4 separate regions of the Homo sapiens genome follow, and regions 1, 3 and 4 are each linked to region 2. Evidence: promoter capture Hi-C in 16 types of primary human blood cells and fetal thymus (Javierre and others, 2016). All regions are on one chromosome and are shown on one strand. The core of a region is centred on a gene start or on the middle of the fragment in contact, and the rest is flanking DNA. Distances in the headings are between cores, read along the strand shown.

The links. The method cuts DNA at HindIII sites, captures the fragments that hold promoters and counts their contacts. A CHiCAGO score of 5 or more calls a contact.
Region 1: a contact is called between a fragment that was not itself captured here and the fragment with the promoter of ZSCAN25 in region 2, in 1 of 17 cell types (erythroblasts). The highest score is 5.6, in erythroblasts.
Region 3: a contact is called between a fragment that was not itself captured here and the fragment with the promoter of ZSCAN25 in region 2, in 2 of 17 cell types (erythroblasts and M1 macrophages). The highest score is 6.8, in erythroblasts.
Region 4: a fragment that was not itself captured here is called in contact with the fragment with the promoter of ZSCAN25 in region 2 in 2 of 17 cell types (erythroblasts and M1 macrophages); the score reaches 10.5 in erythroblasts.

Annotation. Positions count from the first base shown.
Region 1 is chr7:99,775,468-99,780,525 of GRCh38, reverse strand. CYP3A4 (cytochrome P450 family 3 subfamily A member 4) reads left to right here. Exons shown (of 13, transcript NM_017460.6): 2 at 441-534; 3 at 2,446-2,498. Among named protein-coding and RNA genes, the nearest start is that of CYP3A4, 6.2 kb to the left of the region's middle. The HindIII fragment of the contact is 1,853 bases long and covers 477-2,329 here.
Region 2 is chr7:99,613,642-99,618,307 of GRCh38, reverse strand. It overlaps ZSCAN25 (zinc finger and SCAN domain containing 25), which reads right to left and starts at 1,362. Exons shown (of 8, transcript NM_145115.3): 1 at 1,292-1,362. RefSeq lists enhancers at 1,327-1,646, 1,237-2,216. The HindIII fragment of the contact is 2,601 bases long and covers 250-2,850 here.
Region 3 is chr7:99,815,558-99,819,972 of GRCh38, reverse strand. No RefSeq gene overlaps it. Among named protein-coding and RNA genes, the nearest start is that of CYP3A43, 10 kb to the left of the region's middle. The HindIII fragment of the contact is 4,358 bases long and covers 1-3,646 here.
Region 4 is chr7:99,854,171-99,858,625 of GRCh38, reverse strand. It overlaps CYP3A43 (cytochrome P450 family 3 subfamily A member 43), which reads right to left. Exons shown (of 13, transcript NM_057095.3): 8 at 2,908-3,035; 9 at 1,727-1,793. Among named protein-coding and RNA genes, the nearest start is that of OR2AE1, 21 kb to the left of the region's middle. The HindIII fragment of the contact is 2,475 bases long and covers 181-2,655 here.

The sequences.
Region 1 (5,058 bases), core at 154-2,653, 160 kb before region 2:
CAGTGATGCAAAATCTCATCATCACTGCGGAAGACAAAAAAATGTCACCCTTTCTACCTAGGATGAGAATCCCCAAATTTGGGGAGAGGCCACTTACTAAATAGACGTAAAGGAACAAAGTGACCTGGAAGAATTCCTGCCTGAACCTCTCAGGATCATTCACATTTGAGAACATTTATCAAATATTCATTCCAGGACTGGGACCATGAAGACTTCAGCTGCTTTGAGCTAATCATTGTAACTTTTTGGTGTCTCATGGTGGAGGCAGGAAAGGACCTGATGAACAAATATAATCATTGCCGTCAGAGTTACTGTTATTATTTCTTGCCTTAATGTTACCTCGTTCTCTTGAGCATTCCAGTTCCTCAGTCAATGACTCATCAACCCCTATATCTATAAAGTCACAATCGCTGTGACTTGATTTCTGTTTCACTTTGTAGATATGGAACCCATTCACATGGACTTTTTAAGAAGCTTGGAATTCCAGGGCCCACACCTCTGCCTTTTTTGGGAAATATTTTGTCCTACCATAAGGTGAGTGTTTTTGAGCTCACTCTTTTGCTTCTTATGATTGCCAAGAGCAGCTTAGTTCCATCAGTAAAAATGCTTCTCCTCAGGGGGAAGGTCTGAAGTTTTACACTTTCAGAAACAGTGTGTAGGCATCACCCAGAACATGGCAATGTTTACCCAAGGGCTCTCTTGCTAACTCTCAGGAACCTCAGGTTTGCCTCAGTTGAACAGCCCAAATCTCAGGTAGATCAGCAACCTGATGCTCAGAACTTGATGTGCAAACTTTGTGAGCGCCATAAAGAAGGTTTTCTTTTTGCTCTATGCAGGTTCCCAGGAAGGTACAGTCATACTTAGTTAGTATTAAAAGTAGGAAAAGGACCCCCTGATTGTGACTTGTTATCTGTGTACATGAGAGTCAAACTTTCCTCTCTGTAGCAAGAGCTCTTGAGTAGCCTTTTTTCCCTTCCTTCTGGACAGCTTTGAAACTCAATTTATTAGGGAGCCCAGGTATTTACCTTTGGGTCATTTGCACCTGCTTCAATCCTCTCCGAAAAATGCTAAATTCCCTGAGGGTATCTCCATGGCTCTACCCCAGCTCTTACTCCCCATGACATCTTTTGCAGCTTTGAGAGACAGAACAAAGGGGTTCTGCTTTATTTCTTTTCCTTCAAAGGCTGCACCTTATGGGTGAGTCTGATCACAGACTGGATATAACTGAGATGAGACAGTGGTGGTCAATCAAACTCAGATATTTAAGCACAAAATGAGTTTGTGGGGTTTTTTTTTTACACAAAGGCGGAATCACATGCAAAATCACTAGAAAGGGGATGATTTGATGAAATTATTAAATATTTAATTTTGCTGAATAGAATATAATATGTGCCACGTGGACCGTGAACTTTGGCCGAGCCTTTGTGCCTAACCTAGTCTGATGCTCTGCCCAGGGTCTGGGCCCTGGATGGAAAATTAGGAGCCCATGTCCACATGGCCAGCCGCAGCAGTCAGCTCTTTGGCTTACATCATCTTTCCCACATACCTGAGGCTTGTTTCTCAGATTCTAATTCTCTCAGGTGAGGGCTTTGTTGTCTAATTACTATCCAGGAATTTCATATTTTTTCCCTGTGCAAAAGCAATAATTTCCCCGCCACCTTTTCCAGGTCAACTCTTTAGTAGATGTACCCCCAAGATGCACATTCCTGGGACCTTTGTTTGCACAGTTAAAATGTCACCCCTGAAATGTCGATACAGGAAGGTTTGTTTTTAAGTTTCAGTGAAAACTCTGAGCAAGTGTTGTAATTTGCTGTGTCCGATGTGTAGAGGGGACATTTTCTCAGAACTTCCATGTTAAGCTGGAAAACTGGAAAGTGAGTTCACTTTGTCATTCTGTCACTCGTTCATTTTCTCACTCAACAACATGCCTCATACTTACCTAAATCTGCTAGACTAAAGGAGTTCCCTGGTGTCTGTAACTTTCCAATTCTGCTAGAACTCTAGAGCGAGCTCATGAAATAAATGAAAAGGATGACAAAGAGATAAAACACTGTGCATTCTCTTCTGATGCTAATTCACTTTCCCTTGGCCTCAGTTTCCCCATGTGCCCCTGGAGGTGATCATTCAGGGATTCATGAGATTTTCAAGACAACACATGAAAAAGCAAAAAGACATCAGAAAGACAAAGAGGTACTTAGTATTTATACACAAGGATAAGTCATTCAGTATCCACAACACTTGGAGAGAATTCAAGAGTGATTTTAAATTTCCCTTTTCAAATACCTCCTCTGTTTTCTCTTATTTCCTTTATGACGTCTCCAAATAAGCTTCCTCTAACTGCCAGCAAGTCTGATTTCATTGGCTTCGACTGTTTTCATCCCAATTAGAGGCAGGGTTAAGTACATTAAAAATAATAATCAAATATTATTTTGTTTCTCCTCCCAGGGCTTTTGTATGTTTGACATGGAATGTCATAAAAAGTATGGAAAAGTGTGGGGGTGAGTATTCTGGAAACTTCCATTGGATAGACTTGTTTCTATGATGAGTTTACCCCACTGCACAGAGGACAGTCTCAGCCCAAAGCCTCTTGGGATGAAGCTCTTGTCAACCTAACTACAAACAGAGAGAAGTTCTCTGAAAGAAGAAGATATTTATTTGGGTGTAGAGTATTGCAATGGGAATCTGCATGCCTTTATAAACTATGTGCAAATTCAGGGAAGTAAAGCAAGACAAAGAGGCTCCAAGGAAAATATGAGGAGGATTTCTTATCAGTTTTGAAATAATTATCCTTCGCTACAAAGATCAGTAACAAGGGTGACGCCTCACCAAGGTTGGACAGGCAGTTGCTGGGCAGGTGTCCTTGCAGAAATATTTTTTTTAATGTTGGGATGGCCTTTGTGCAAGCTTGTAGTTTTGCGGAGTCTTTTGTGATAGTTTTGTTATCAGGCACACAAGCATGAGAATCCTCTCTTCATAGCCTTCTTTGATTTATTTGTCAGGGTTTTTACACACACACACACACACACACACACACACACACACACACACAACTAGTGACATCATTTTGGTTCTAACAACATTCACACTGGTTATTGTAAAACTTTTCGAAGGTTGTCCTACCAAGGATCCCATGTGTCACCAGGTGTCAAGTTCTACAGTCTGAACTAGGCTGGGAGCATTGTGATTACTTTTCTCCAGACTTTGGTGGCCCAGGGACTCACAGCATCATGCTCTGTCCAGTGTCTGCCTATTCCCCTCTTCTTTTTTTTTTTCCTTAGGTGCCCTTTTATTACATGTGTTGTCTCAGACCCTTCTAATATGTGCTCATAAATACATCATATCATCTCCTTCCCACATCAATTCACTTTCAATTAAAAGCCAAAACTCTTTCATTTAGACTTTGGATTTAAAGTGCTTTTGAATGAAGGGTTGAGAGATAATAGAGAAATAGATTGGCAAACCATTTATACTCTGCTGTTGTTGTTTTTTAATTTTATCTGCAAGTGTGGAACTTTTCATTCTGTTTTGTTATTAAATTTAAGCCAAGACTTTTTAATAGAAGGGTATATAAGCATTTCTTTGTCTATACCTTCCTGCTGAATTTGAAGAAATGCTGAATATTCTTAACCACTGGCGGGCTGATGGACTGTGATTTTATTTTATTTTTTATTTTTAGTTTTTTAAATTATACTTTAAGTTCTGGGTTACATGCATAGAATGTGTAGTTTTGTTACATAGGTATACACGTGCCATGGTGGTTTGCTGCACCCATCAACCTGTCACCTACATTAGGTATTTCTCCTAATGCTATCTCTCCCCTAGCCCCCCACCCAACAACAGGCCCCAGTGTGTGATGTTTCCCTCCCCGTGTCCATGTGTTCTCATTGTTCAACTCCTACTTAGGAGTGAGAACATGTGGTGTTGAGTTTTCTGATCTTGTGATAGTTTGCTGAGAATGATGGTTTCCAGCTTCATCCTTGTCCCTGCAAAGGACATGAACTCATTGTTTTTTTATGGCTGCATAGTATTCCATGGGGTATACGTGGCACATTTTCTTTATCCAGTCTGTCACTGATGGACATTTGGGTTGGTTCCAAGTCTTTGGTATTGTGAATAGTTCTGCAATAAACATATGTGTGCATGTGTCTTTATCATAGAATGATTTATGCTTTGGGTATATGCCCAGTAATGGGATTGCTGGGTCAAATGGTATTTCTAGTTCTAGATCCTTGAGGAATCACCACACTGTCTTCCACAATGGTTGAACTAATTTACACTCCCACCAACAGTGTAAAAGTGTTCCTATTTCTCCACATCCTCTCCAGCATCTGTTGTTTCCTGACTTTTTAATGATCACCATACTACCTGGCATGAGATGGTATCTCATTGTGGTTTTGATTTGCATTTCTCTAATGACCAGTGATGATGAGCATTTTTTCACATGTCTGTTGGCTGCATAGATGTCTTCTTTTGAGAAGTGTCTGTTCATATCCTTTGCCCATTTTTTGATGGGGTTGTTTGCTTTTTTTCTTGTAAATTTGTTTAAGTTCTTTGTAGATTCTGGATGTTAGCCCTTCGTCAGATGGATAGATTGCAAAAATTTTCTCCCATTCTGTAGGTTGCCTGTTTGCTCTGATGATAGTTTCTTTTGCTGTGTAGAAGCTCTTTAGTTTAATCATATCCCATTTGTCAATTTTGGCTTTTGTTGCCATTGCTTTTGGTGTTATATTTATGAAGCCTTTGCCCATGCCTGTGTCCTGAATGGTATTGCCCAGGTTTTCTTCTAGGATTTTTATGGTCCTAGGTCTTACATTTAAGTCTTTAATCCATCTTGAGTTAATTTTTGTATAAGGTGTAAGGAAGGGGTCCAGTTTCAATTTTCTGCATATGGCTAGGCAGTTTCACCAACACCATTTATTAAATAGGAAATCTTTTCCCCATTGCTTTTGTGTGTCAGGTTTGTCAAACATCAGATGGTAGTAGATGCATGGTGTTATTTCTGAGGCCTCTGTTCTGTTCCATTGATCTATATTTCTGTTTTGGTACCTGTACCATGCT
Region 2 (4,666 bases), core at 113-2,612:
AAAAAATGTGAAGTCAAAAAGAGAGAAAACTAATCTAAGTCCAAGTACTCAAGGAAAAGAAGAGGCTTGAAGTAGACTGGAGAATGAGTCCTATTTACCTCCAAGTGGATTATGCGGAAGACCTAGACTGGGAAGACAGACTTGGAAGTCCAAAGCACCAGGGGAAGGAGATCCTGCTTGTCAGAAAACGGAAAGATCACCTGACTGGAGCAGAGAATGGGCAGCTGGCAGGAGGCACACCCCAAAGCTTCTGCTAAATATTCTATTGTGAGTTTGTGTATTTATCTACCCCCACTTAAACCAAGTTTATATTTTCAGTCTATTCATTGACTCTGCAACATTGAGATTTCTCTTTCATTCCTTTCTAGCTATTGCATTGGTTCACTCCACTAGTGCATTTAATGCACTACAGTGCAAATGTTTACCCATGTGTCTCCCTCTAACAGATTCCCTGGAGGCAAGAAAGATCCTCATTCATCTTTTATCTCTGCCATTTGACAAATAGAAATTGCCCCATTGCTATTCTTTATCTCCCCCCACCCATTGTGACTCTTTTGTTTTGTTTCTGAGACAGGATCTCAGGGTTTTATCACCCCAGCTGGAGACCAGTGGTGCGATCACTGCAGCCTTTGCCTCCTAGGATCAAGCGATCCTCCCACCTCAGCCTCCCGAGTAGCTGGGACTACTGGCGAGTGCCACCATGACCAGCTAATTATTTATTTTTGTAGAGACAGGGTCTCCCCATGTTGCCCAGGCTGGAGTGCAGCGGCATGAATGTAAGTCAGTGCAACCTTGAACTCCTGGGCTCAGGCGATCCTCCTGCCTCAGCCTCCCGAGTAGCTGGGACCTCAGGCGCGTGCCACCACGCCCGGCTACTTTTCAATTTTTGTAGAGACAGGGTCTCGCTATGTTGACCAGGCTGGCTCATCACTATTCTTTAAATAAGTGTCCTATGTGATTACTTTCACTTTGCACAGAGTTCTGCTTTGGTTCAAGATCTCTTCGGGTTCGTGGCCAGCCCTGCACTAAGCCAAGCCTGGCAGAGCGGGATCAGCCTCGCTCCTACCTGAGCCTACAGCGCGGCGGCCCCTCAGCGTCCAGACCCGCAGGGCCTCGGGGCCGCTGAAGGCAGCTCCTGAGAGACTTGCCGCCCTCAGCCGGGGCTGAGCGGAGGGAGACGGGCTCTACTGCAACCCCGCTGCCGCCGAGCCCCGTAGCGGCACCAAAACCCGTCCCCGCGCCCGTTTACCACTTCGCCCGCCACCCGCTGCGGCCCTGAAGAGGCTCTCACCCGCCGCGGCCCTGAAGGGCCTCTCACCCGCTAGGGTCGCCAGTGCTATCCGCGGTCCGGAAGTGAGCTGCGGACGCTGTTAGACAGGTGCGTAAGGAAAGACTCGCTTCCGTGTCCTCTCTAGGATGCTCGGAGGTCTCGGCGGATGCGTCTCGATGGTTGCTGATCCCAGCCTGCTGTTCCGAACCCGGCGAGGCGAAGACCACCAGGGCTTCCCCAGGATTGACTGCCCAGCTCGAGGCGCTCTGTGGCTAGGCCCCTTCCACTTCCGTGCCATTTCACCTGCTTGCCCTCCGTGGAAAGGACTCGGTGCATCGCCAGATACACTACTGGACACAGCACCTGCCCCAAGGGGCTTTAGAGTCCAGTCGGTCAATGCGCGACTATTCCGGCTGCGAGGGCCTTGCGCGAGGCGTAGGGGCAGAGGAGATAGGGGGCGCACTGGATCTAACCGGCTCACTTAAGAGGCTCCTGACCCCGGGTAGTGTGCGTGCGTGTGTGTATGTGTAGTCAGGGAAGGCTTCCTGGAGGAGCCAGCATCGGAGCTGTTTTTTGTGGGGGGTTTTTGTTTGTTTGTTTGTTTGTGTTTTTTGAGAAAGAGAGAGAGAAGTCTTGTTCTGTCTCCCAGGATGGAGTGCAGTGGTGAGATCATAGCTCACTGCAACCTCGAAGCCCTGAGTTCAAGCAATCCTCCCACCTCAGTCTCCTGGGTAGCTGGGACTTTTTTTCAATTTTTTGCAGAGAGGGGGATCTCTCTATGTTGCCCAATCTGGTCTCCAACTTCTGGACTCAAGCGATCTTCCCCCCTTGGCCTCCCAAAGTGCTAGGACTGCAGGCGCAAGCCACCGCGTCCAGCCTGAAGGCAGTCTGTCTCAACTGGGTGGCCCAGTGTTACTCCAGAATCCACTCAGGAAACAGGAAACCCTCTTGTCTTACTCTTCTCCAGCACTTTGCAAAGTGTCTGGTACAATATTTGCTAAAAATATACACTTATAGAGTAAATGAACTCCTAGAATATAACATAGGTGTTAGACCATCTCACTTTATCCTCCATGTCTCTGTCCCACTTTCATATTTTTCTTGTCTGCCCATATTTGACTTGGGTTTATGTCTTCACCTTTTTATTAATAATCCACTTTTCAGCTGTTTCTAATGTGCTACAAAATCCACAGTTGTTGTTTTTTTGTTTTGTTTTGTTTTGTTTTTTAAGAGACGAGGTCTTGCTGTGTCACCTAGGCTGGAGTACAGCGGTGCTATCATAGCTCACTACAGCTTCCAACTCCTGGGTTCAAGCAATCCACCTCAGCTTCCCAAATAGCTGGGACTACAGGCATGAGCCACCACACCCAGCTAATCTTTAAAAAATGTTTTGTAAGGACAGGGTCTCACTATGTTGCCCAGGCTAGTCTTAAACTCCTGGGCTCGAGCAATCCTCCCCACTTGGCCACCCATATTTTTGTTTTAATTAATATATTTTTTCCATTTCTAGAATTTCTATTTGATTTTTTCCAAATATTCTAGATCGATCTTTTAAAAGAATTTACCGATATGTTTAAGCTTTTCTTTGTACATAGTAAATATAGTTGAGCCTGATAATTCTGAGATCTGAAGTCCCCTCAGATATCTTTCTGTGATCTGCTATTTCCACTGTTTTTGATGGTGCCACTTCCACCAGCAGTACCTAACAGCATCCATTTCCCATATCTCATCATCTCTGCCATTATCCAGCTTTAATTTTTGCCAATTGACAGGTGAAGTAAATGTTACCTCATTTTTTAATTTGCATGTTCTTCATTATAAGTGAGGTCAGTCATTATTCCTACTTTCATTAACTTCTTGCCTTCCCTTTTCTGTGAACGGACTTTTCTTTGTGTTTCTATTAAGCTGTTTATCTCTTTCTTATTGATTTATGAGTTCTGGGGACATTATATAATGTCCCTAGAGCATTAAATAATGTCCCCAGGACATTAATTGGGGGCATTCCTCAAACATACCTTCCTCGAACATACCACAGTACCTTGTTTCCTTGTGTGACAGGCTGCTCATTTTCCTTGGAAACATTTTTGTGAAATTTCTTTGAGTTCCAGGATAAAGTGAATTTATCTAGAGAGGGTTGATATTGTTTTTCTTCCATGTAAATTTTTTTCTTGTCAGCATCACCAGTCCAAGGTCATTGTAAACCAAATTTATAATTTGAGGATTTTTGAACCATGCTATAATAGTAATATGAATTTGGGCTGCAAATATTGAGGGGTGATTTGTGGTTGCAACTTCTCAACCACAAATCTTTGTGGTTTTGTGGTTGTCCAGCGTGGCACTAAGACAAATTGCCTTGCTGGCTCCTGGTGGTAGGGGTACGGGAGAGGAGACTTATCTCTCACCCTTACATTGATAACCCAGCCCTTGTCTATGGCCATACCACCCTGAATGTACCGGATCTCTTCTGATAATCCACACTTTTGCAGTCCTTGGTTTATGGGGGGAAAGCTCTCTTATCAGATGCTCTTCCTTGAGTAAACTTTAGGCATAGTTTTAAAAAATCAAATCTCTGCAAGATGATTTCTCTAGGTATTATTCTTTACTTTGATGTTATCTTATAATTCATTACTATTTTGTTACCTGATATCTTTAGATTTTATTATTTATTTTATCATTTCTGTTGTTTTTGGCAGACGAATCAGCCCAACTATTTAGTCTGCCATGTTATCAGATGTAGGATGTCTCCAGGCTTCTTTATTTATATGTTTTTATTTCTTCCAAATAGGACACTTAAAATTACATTTTTACTGCCTGTATAATATTCTGTCCTCTGAATACACTATACTTTTAAAAATTATTTCAACATGGGGGAAATAATCTAGAATATACTCTTTTATTTTTGCTATTATAAATAACCTGGAACAAGCATTCCTTTGTATAAATACTTAACCTCACCCCTGGTTATTTCCTTAGAATAAATTCCTAAAATTCAACTTCTGGGCCACCAGGTATGAATATTTTTAAACCTATTAATGCATATGCTATTATAAAATGCTTTCCAGAAAGTTCATGCCAATTTACATTCCCATCAAATGTATATGAGAGTGCTCAACTCACCAAAATTGGCTAAGACTGGTTTCTAATCTTTGTGGATTTGATTTTCATTTAATTTTTTTTATTTGACCACTTTTATAGGGCTTTAGTAAAAATTCTTCCCAAGTTCTGGCAATAAATCCATCATCAATCCTAGCTTTCACTGGTGGCATGAATTTCCATTCTTTGTGTGTTTGTTTGAGACAGAGTCTTGCTCTGTCACCAGGCTAGAGTGCAGTGGCGCTATCTCTGCTCACTGCCACCTCTGCCTCCTGGGTTCAAGCGATTCTCCTGCCTCAGCCT
Region 3 (4,415 bases), core at 218-2,717, 200 kb before region 2:
GTGTGCCGCTTTTGGCTGGGCTGTGCATGTAGAGCTTTCTTTCTCTGCCCAGAGGTGATTTAGTTAAGGTTAACAGGAATATTTATGTGCTGGGGAATGAGTTGGGTCCATAGCTGCAGCCAGTAGAAAAGCTACCTATGCTGCTCCTCATGTGGAGGGATTGGGGTGCTCTTCTCACATTCACAGTTGGTGAAGAATTATGGCCACCCTTATTTTGACCTCCTTTGACTTTATATTGTGTGATATCAGTAAACTAATCAGTGTTTGATAAGCCCCAAGAGTTATAGATTCTTATCAGAAACTCTTGTGAAGTCATTGGCATTCAATCTCTAACCAGCCCTTATCTTCATGGCTGCCTTCAATCCAAAATACTTCAAATCCATCAAAATAATGCACACATACACATCTTTATCCAGGAAGTTTCCACTGCCTAGAATTTCTCTATACTCCCTAGAAGACTACTATTCATCCTTTCAAACCCAGATCAGATAGACTTCTTTTTAAGTTTTTATTCATTTATGTTTCTTTTTTTCCCACGCAATATACCTATGTTAGCCTGTACATGCATTGCTATAAAGAAGTACCTGAGTCTGGGTAGTTTATAAAGAAAACAGGTTTAATTGGTTCACGATTCTGCAGGCTATACAGGAAGCATGACTGGGGAGGTCTCAGGAAACTTACAATCATGGTGCGAAGGCACATCTTATATTGACCAGAGAAGGAGGAGGGAGAGAGAGAAGAGGGAGCTGCTACACACTTTTAAACAACCAGATCTCATGAGAATTCACTCACTATCATGAGAACAGCAAGGGATAAGTCTGACCCCATGACACCCAATCACCTCCCACCAGACCCCTCCTCCAACATTGAGGATTACAATTTGACATGAGATTTGGGTGGGGTCACAAATCCAAACCACATCAATACCCATATAATAATTTGTTTTATTTATTTTTTTGAGACACACTCTCACTCTGTTGCCTAGGCTAGAGTGCAGTGGCACAATCATAGCTCACTGTAACCTCAAACTCCCAGGCTCAAGCGATCCTCCTGCCTTAGTCTCTGGAGTAGCTGAGGATACAGGTATGCATCAGCACACCTAGCTAATTTTATTTTTTTATTTTTATTTTTGTAGAGACTGTGTGTCTATGTTTCCGAGGCTGGTCTCGAATTCCTGGCTTGAAGTGATCCTCTGGCATTGGACTCTCAAAGTGCTGGGATTATAGGGGTGAGCCACTGCACCAAGCCCAGACCTCTCCTATTAGAGGCTTTCTCTGATTTAGGAATCAGACATGACTGCTTCCTCCTCTGGGCAACTTCTTTCCCCCCTCCCATGGTTCTATTATTGTCTTTCCTCCTCTCCAGCACCGTGTTGGTTTCCACACATGAGCAGTGGTGATCCCTTACCAGAGCATGAGCTTCTTAAGGACAGTCTGAGTATTATTCACCACTATGTCTGCAGGCCCTAGCTGAGTCCTTTACACAGAGTGGGCATCCAGAAAGATTTGTTGAGTTTAGTTGGGTTAGATTGCTGCATATTGCAAAACTTTTCCTGGGACTCTTTCCCTAGGACTCTGGTGACCAAGCCACTTTCCTGCATACAGCAAGAGCTTTTGGCTGGGCCTCAGCTGCCATTCCTGTACATTCAGAATGATCCACCAGGATTCTGTTGTCAAGAGGGCCTGTAATGGAGACACAGGGAAGGAGATGAAGATGACGGCTTCAGTGAGAAGCAGCATACTGTGCTGCTTCCTGTGCACCCCCTCAAATGGTTCTGCAGAAGACGGAAAGCTAGAGATGCTCCTGACCAAAGAATGCCCCTCTCTCTGGAAATAATGCATGTCTGGGAACAATGGGTGTGAAAGGAGAGAAGAGGAGAACAGCTACCTGGATTGCCAGGTGGACTCCAGCCACCTTAGCCACCAGGGATGTGGCTGATGTCACTACAAGCAGCACATACAACATCAAGGACTCCAATAAGATGATTTGAGCTTCTTCTTTGGGGTAGTAGGGGTCAGAACAGACACATCCTGCTTTCTGAAGAGTGAAATATTTACCCCAGGAGCTGGTAAGGATGAGGCCTGCGACAGCAATGCTGTCATCTGAGAGCCCCTCTATGCCTGCTTGCTGGAAGAGATCCCAAAGCTGAGCCTTTGGAAATGGCACTGGCTCATTATCATCACTGACCCACGTTCCATGTCTCCTTGCCCTGAGGAATTATGAATTATGTGACAAGTAAATCCTCGACATTCTTAAAAGTCAGCAGAAATACAGCCCTAAACTCCTGGGCTCAAGTGATCCTCCTGCCCTAGCCTCTCGAGTAGCTGGAACTACAGGCATGCATCAACATGTCCAGACTTTATTTGTTGTTGTAGATATGGGGTCTTGCTATAATGCCTAGGCTGGTCTCAAAGTGCGGGCTCAAGCAATCCTTCTCTCTCAGCCTCCCAAATTACTGGGAATACAGACATCAACCACTGAGCCTGATCTTGATAGAAATTCTTAGTAAAAAGGATGACTTTTAAATATTAAATCTAGATTCTCAAGCAGTATGGTAAACTATTTTTGAAAAGCCATATACAATTAAATTTGTATATGTTAAAACTTGCAAAATAATCTTGAGTAGGCTGGACGTGGTTGCTTATGCCTGTAATGCCAGCACTTTGGGAGGCCAAGACCAGCGGATCACAAGGTCAGGAGATCGAGACCATCCTGGCTAACACAGTGAAACCCCGTCTCTACTAAAAATACAAAAAATTAGCCGGGCATGGCGGCGTGTGCCTGTAGTCCCAGCTACTTGGGAGGCTGAGGCAGGAGGATGGCGTGAACCTGGGAGGCGGAGCTTGCAGTGAGCCGAGATCTTGCCACTGCACTCCAGCCTGGGCGACAGAGCAAGACTCTGTCTAAAAAAAAAAAAAAATCTTGAGTAGATATTATACATTTTAATTATACAAGCAGCCATTGACTTCTGAAAAGTCCAGTAACCCCTCCTAATTAAACCCATCCTATGAAATGATGGGAAGAGGGCTTCAGGAGACTTTATTTATTTATTTATTTATTGAAACAGAGTCTTGCTCTGTGGGCCCTGAGCTGGAGTGCAGTGAAGTGATCTCGGCTCATCGCAACCTCCGCCTCCTGAGTTGAAGCACTTCTCCTGCCTCAGCCTCCCCCGTAGCTGGGATTACAGGTGGGCACTACTGAGCCCAGCTAATTTTTGTATTTTTAGTAGAGACGGAGTTTCACCATGTTGGCCAGGCTGGTCTTGAACTCCTGGCCTCAGTGATCAGCCTGCCTCGGCCTCCCAAAGTGCTGGGATTACAGGCATGAGCCACCGCGCCTGGCCTGTGCTTTTGCTTTTAACATCTCATCTTGGCTACAAAGAGCAGTGCAAATGGGGAACTTCTCAAGTCCTACAGCATTTTGACCATAGTTTTAGCCTCACTCTTATCAAGTCAGCAACACTGTAACTTCCAATCTCAGTTGAGTGGAGGGCAAGCAAATTGCTATAGAGACTGAGAAACATCAGCCTGTAGATGCCTGGGAGCTGGGCTAGGGACTATCTTCCCCTTCCCAAATGTGCCACAAGCCTGCTTTCTCCCGCACTGAGCCCCCTATTTGTACAGATGCACAGATTGGCTACAAAGCTTCCATTAAGCCACAAATAGGATGAAAACCATCTCTACCCTCCTCCATTCCCATGCAGAAATCCTGCTTCAGAGAAGGAGTTGCATATTGAATGCATGAATCCTAGAAATAAGACTTAGAAGGTCTTGTTTGACATCAATCAATGACAACTGTCTTTAAGTTCATCAGGGAAAAGATCCCAACTTTTCTATAAAGGTAACACCATGTTATTTTTAATTTTAAAGTGACATGAATGTATTTTTCTAAGAGACAGACAAACACACCCACAAACACCCACACATACATAAATGTCAGATTAAAATTAAAAATTAAATACCTTAAAATTTGTGGCCAGGAACCCCAATTCAACTGCAAATCACTCCTTGAACATTTACTGAATGCTTGCCATGGAAATGTCCCCTGCAAAGTGCTATTTGAATTTTATGAAAGAAATAAAATGAAGTGATATTTTTTAAGGGGCTGAGGACAGACATTCTTAGATATAGAGAGAACTTAGTAAACAAACATGAATGATTTAGTGACAAATATGAAATCAGGTGATGATAACAGCCTGCAGTAATGAATAACAAAGCAGAGGACTGAATGGGCCCTGGACTAGATGGAAGGGCTTTTCGGAGGAGGTTGGGGATTGAACCAGGACATGAAGGATGGGGAGAGGATAAGAAAGAGAGAGGGAAGAACATTCATAGAATTATTGTTGGGTTGAGAACTAGCTTGGCTTGTCAGCAGGAAGGGTCCTGGAAGGTGAGTTCTAACAGTCAGGATGACCC
Region 4 (4,455 bases), core at 169-2,668, 240 kb before region 2:
CAACATGAAATATAAAAACAATAGGGTCTAGTGAGTGGAATTCATAGTGCCTATTCCATCCTGGCCCGAATAGCATCTTCCTTAGTACATGCCCATTCTCTCTGCTCCACTTCATGCTCACCGAACAGCATTTATGACTACAGGTTTGCCTCCCTCTTGATATTTCTCCCAAGAAAAGCTTAGCACAGTCAGCCATTGGTCTGTTTGATCAGGACTGGATTAAGAACTTTAGAGACCTAGGGTACTAAAATAAATATGGTGCCCACTCCAACCATGTATTTCATAACTGAAAACAATACAAGATGAGTGTGAGAAAGGTCTACAGAGTTGTGATTTACTGGTGATAATTTTCATGATGATGTTGTGGGTAAATTCAACTTTCCAATTATTTTATTCAGTTGGCATGAACCCCAGGACATGGAATTGAAATGAAATCATAATCTCAAAGTGTAGATCTGCTACCCAGTAGGGTAGGCACTAGCCACAGGTGGCTACTTAAATTTAATTAATTAAAATTAGATATACTTAAAAATTATTCTTCATTGGCAGCAGCTACATGTTCAGTACTCAATAGCCATGTATCTAGTGATGTCTGTATTGAGCAACAAAACGATAGACTGTTTCCCTTTTCACAAAAAGTTGCACTGGGACAGATGGACAGATGATAGATGACACATAGATAGACAAGTAGATGAAGACATAGATATATTTACAATGGTGTGTTTGAGTTAAACATTTCCTGCTCTTTATTTTTACTTATTTTATTTATTTAGTATTATTTTTGAGATGGAGTCTCACTCTGTTGCCCAGGCTGGAGTGCAGTAGTGTGATCTTGGCTCACTGCAACCTCCGCCTCCCTGGTTCAAGTGATTCTCCCACCTCAGCCTCCCAAATAGCTGGGATTACAGGTGTGCGCCACCACACCCGGCTAGTTTTTGTATTTTTAGTAGAGACAGGGTTTCGCCATGTTGGCCAGGCTGGTCTCGAACTCCTGACCCTAGGTGATCCACCTGCCTCGGCCTCCCAAAGTGCTGAGATTACAGACGTGAGCCACCATGCCCAGCCTCCACTTCCTGCTCTTTAGAATTAATTGTTAATATTCACAATTATGTCATATGGTTGTCAAACTTTGATGGCTTGAAATCGATCATGGTCATTATTTTGCGACCATCATAGTAATGATGGTTTCAGTCAAAACCATCCATGGGTGGTAAAACTAGTAGGTGAAAAATTGAAGAGGAAAAGGACATTACACAGTCTTAAAGGTTTTCTCACAGTTACTTTTCCATTATATAGGGAAAAATAAAACCCGTCAGTAGATTAACCTTGTGAACACACTTTCACCAAGTGTTTCCAGTTAAAATCACCCTTATTTGGACAGTGTGTCTCCTGATTGGATGTTAGATGTACGTTTCCAAGTTCTGAGTAAGTGGATCTGGAGGAGGCTGAGAACTGGCATTTTATCTGATGTGGGTGATCCACAGATCACTGACCGACCTCCGGGAGTGCCACACTTGTTCAGGGTTGCCCTTCAAGCCTGGAATGTGGCTATGCCTGTGTGCTTCTAGAAAGTGCCTCCAGCTATCATTTATAACATCCAAATGTGTGCCTTTCTGCAATGTGGAAGAAATTCTCATTTTCCTGGAAAACTTTCTGCACATTTTCAGAACAGGGCCTTCTCTCTGAGTGTCCCCATCAGTAGCCCCCAGATGCAGTTCTTGGTTACCTTTATGGGACTTTGTTTCTTTGGAATTCTGGGAGTCGATCATCTGTTGAAAGAAATCTACTCGATGCTGGAAGCAAAAAGAGAAATTTTAATGACAGAAAGTCACTTGTGAAGTCAGAAGTGAATCAGGAGTCCAGTCCTAAGCACCCCTCCTGAGAATATGCTCTCTTTAAGTTCAGAAGTGTAATGGGTGTTGCCTGAGTCACCAATGTTTAGAATAAAATCATGCATCTAAAACCTTGGAGAGCAGGATGTTTCCTTGAGAGAAATCCTTTTGTCATGTCTATCTGCTTTTTAGTCTTTGCTCTCCCTGATCCTCAGCTTCTCTGGCCTTTGGACACAACTTCCTGGCCAAAGAGTTGTCAGCTCATTCTCTAGTCATAATTTCTTGAACAGGAAGAAGTCCTGAATTTCAATCCTATTTGTTCTGCTGCTTTTATTCTTAACCAATGGACAAATAGATTAATCTCTGGATAATCCCAGGGGAGCTGATTTGAATGCATCTTCAAATACTCCCCACTCCTAGAACTCTATACAACGTTCAGTGTCACCTAGGGGACCCAGTCCTGCATTCCTGACTTTGAGGCATCATCATCGGGCTGGTCTCCAGGGCTCATAAAGGCAAAGTTGGATCAGTCAGCTTGCACCCACAATGCCCAGAGAAGACCCCTGCCCAGTCCAGGCTATGACAGGACTGAAATTTAACATACACTTACTTCTGCAGGTAGCCTGGTAGGGACTCCTGCTGAAGAAGGTGTAAAAATAACAGGCTTGGACTTGAAATGATTCCTTACTAATATAAGAACTAGGGAAATTGTAATACCCATAAAATAATTTTATCAGTCATTTTTATCCAGTCAGATTTATTGGCAACTTTATACAGTCAAATTTATTGACAATTTACTGAAAGGAAGAGAAGCGGTAAAGCTTCTATCTCTACATTATTTATGCCATAATATACTAAAGTCATGCCTATTATTAAATTCCAAATGCTGTTTCACTCATTCTCTTTCTTCCCCAAGCTTCACCTTCTTTATTCCCAGCAAAATGTAAAAACCCTCTTGGTCTAAAGTTCTCTAGCTGCCTTTAAAAAACACAGATAAGTGCACAAATCGTATGTAAACAGCCCAAAAATATAATAAAAAAGTGAACATTCTCATGTCACCACCACCAGATTTTACCTTTTGTTTATCTTTGAGGCGACTTTCTTTCATCCTTTCAATGGAATTTTTTAAAAAATGGGTAACATCTTTTGGAAACAAACCGATATTTAGGGCTTCAAAAACTGGGGTAAGAAATGGAAAGAGTGCTATAGGAAAATTAAATAGAAAAAGAAAAAATAAATCATAGTGAAAAATGTGAAATTTACCTACAACAATTACAATTTTCTCTACCTATAGACTTCAGGGTTCTCAACCAGGATCCATTTCCTGTATGACCTTTGCCCCTCTTCCTGTATGACCTTTGCCCCTCTTCCATGCCAATGGCTGAGCAAGAGCAGATCCACACATAGGGGCCTCCACTATAGCAGTGAGATCAGTGGTCCCTTCTGCATCTTCAGAGTGACCAAAGGAACAGAATTAAATTCCCTGACTTCTTAGCCTTTATCTACTGGACTAGAGTCTCTTTGGATAGCCTGCTGCTTTAATGAATCATGTTTTTCCATGAAATAGTAGTCAGGATAGAAACAATACGGCAAATGTCCTTCAACTACCATGGAATGAAACTAGAAATCAATAAAAGCAAGAGAATTGCACTTAGGGAGGCTGAGGCAGGCAGATTGCTTGAGGTCAGGAGTTTGAGACCAGCCTGACCAACATGGCGGAACCCCATCTCTACTGATACAAAAATTAGCCGGGCATGGTGGCATGTGCCTGTAGTCCCAGCTACTTGGGACCCAGTCATGAGAATCGCTTGAACCAGGGAGGCGCAAGTTGCAGTGAGCTGAGATTGTGCCACTGTACTCCAGCCTGAGTGACAGAATGAAAATGTCTCTCGAAAGAAAAAAAAAAAGAGAGAGAGAGAAAAGAGAATTGGAAAACTCACAAATATGTGGAAGTTAAACAATACACTTTTAAGTAACCAATGAGCTGAAGTAGAAAGCAAAAGGACAATTAGAAATTGTTTTGAGATGAAGAAAAATGAAGACATGATATGCCAAAGCGTATGGGATGTAGCCAAAGCAATGTTCAGAGGGAAATTTATAGTTGTGAATGTCAGATAATCTCAAATCAATAACCTAAATGTATACCATAACACACTGAAAAATGAAGAGCAAAGTAAAACTAAAGCCAGCAGAAAGGGGGAAAATAATAAAAACTAAAGTGTAACCTAATGAAATACAGATTTAAAAGCAATAAAGAAAACCAAAAATTGGTTCCTTGAAAATATCATCAGCCGGGCGCGGTGGCTCACGCCTGTAATCCTAGCACTTTGGGAGGCTGAGGCGGGTGGATCACCTGAGGTGAGGAGTTAGACCAGCCTGACCAACATGGCAAAACCCCGTCCCTACTAAAAATGCAAAAGTTAGCTGGGCATGGTGGTGGACACTTGTAATCCCAGCTACTCAGGAGGGTGAGAAAGGAGAATTGCTTAAACCCGGGAGGCAGAGGTTTCAGTGAGCCTAGATCACGCAACTTTTTTGAGACTCTGTCTCAAAAAAAAAAAAAAATTATCAAAACTCAAAACTCATGGACATAGAGAGTAGAAGGATGGTGACCAGACTCTGG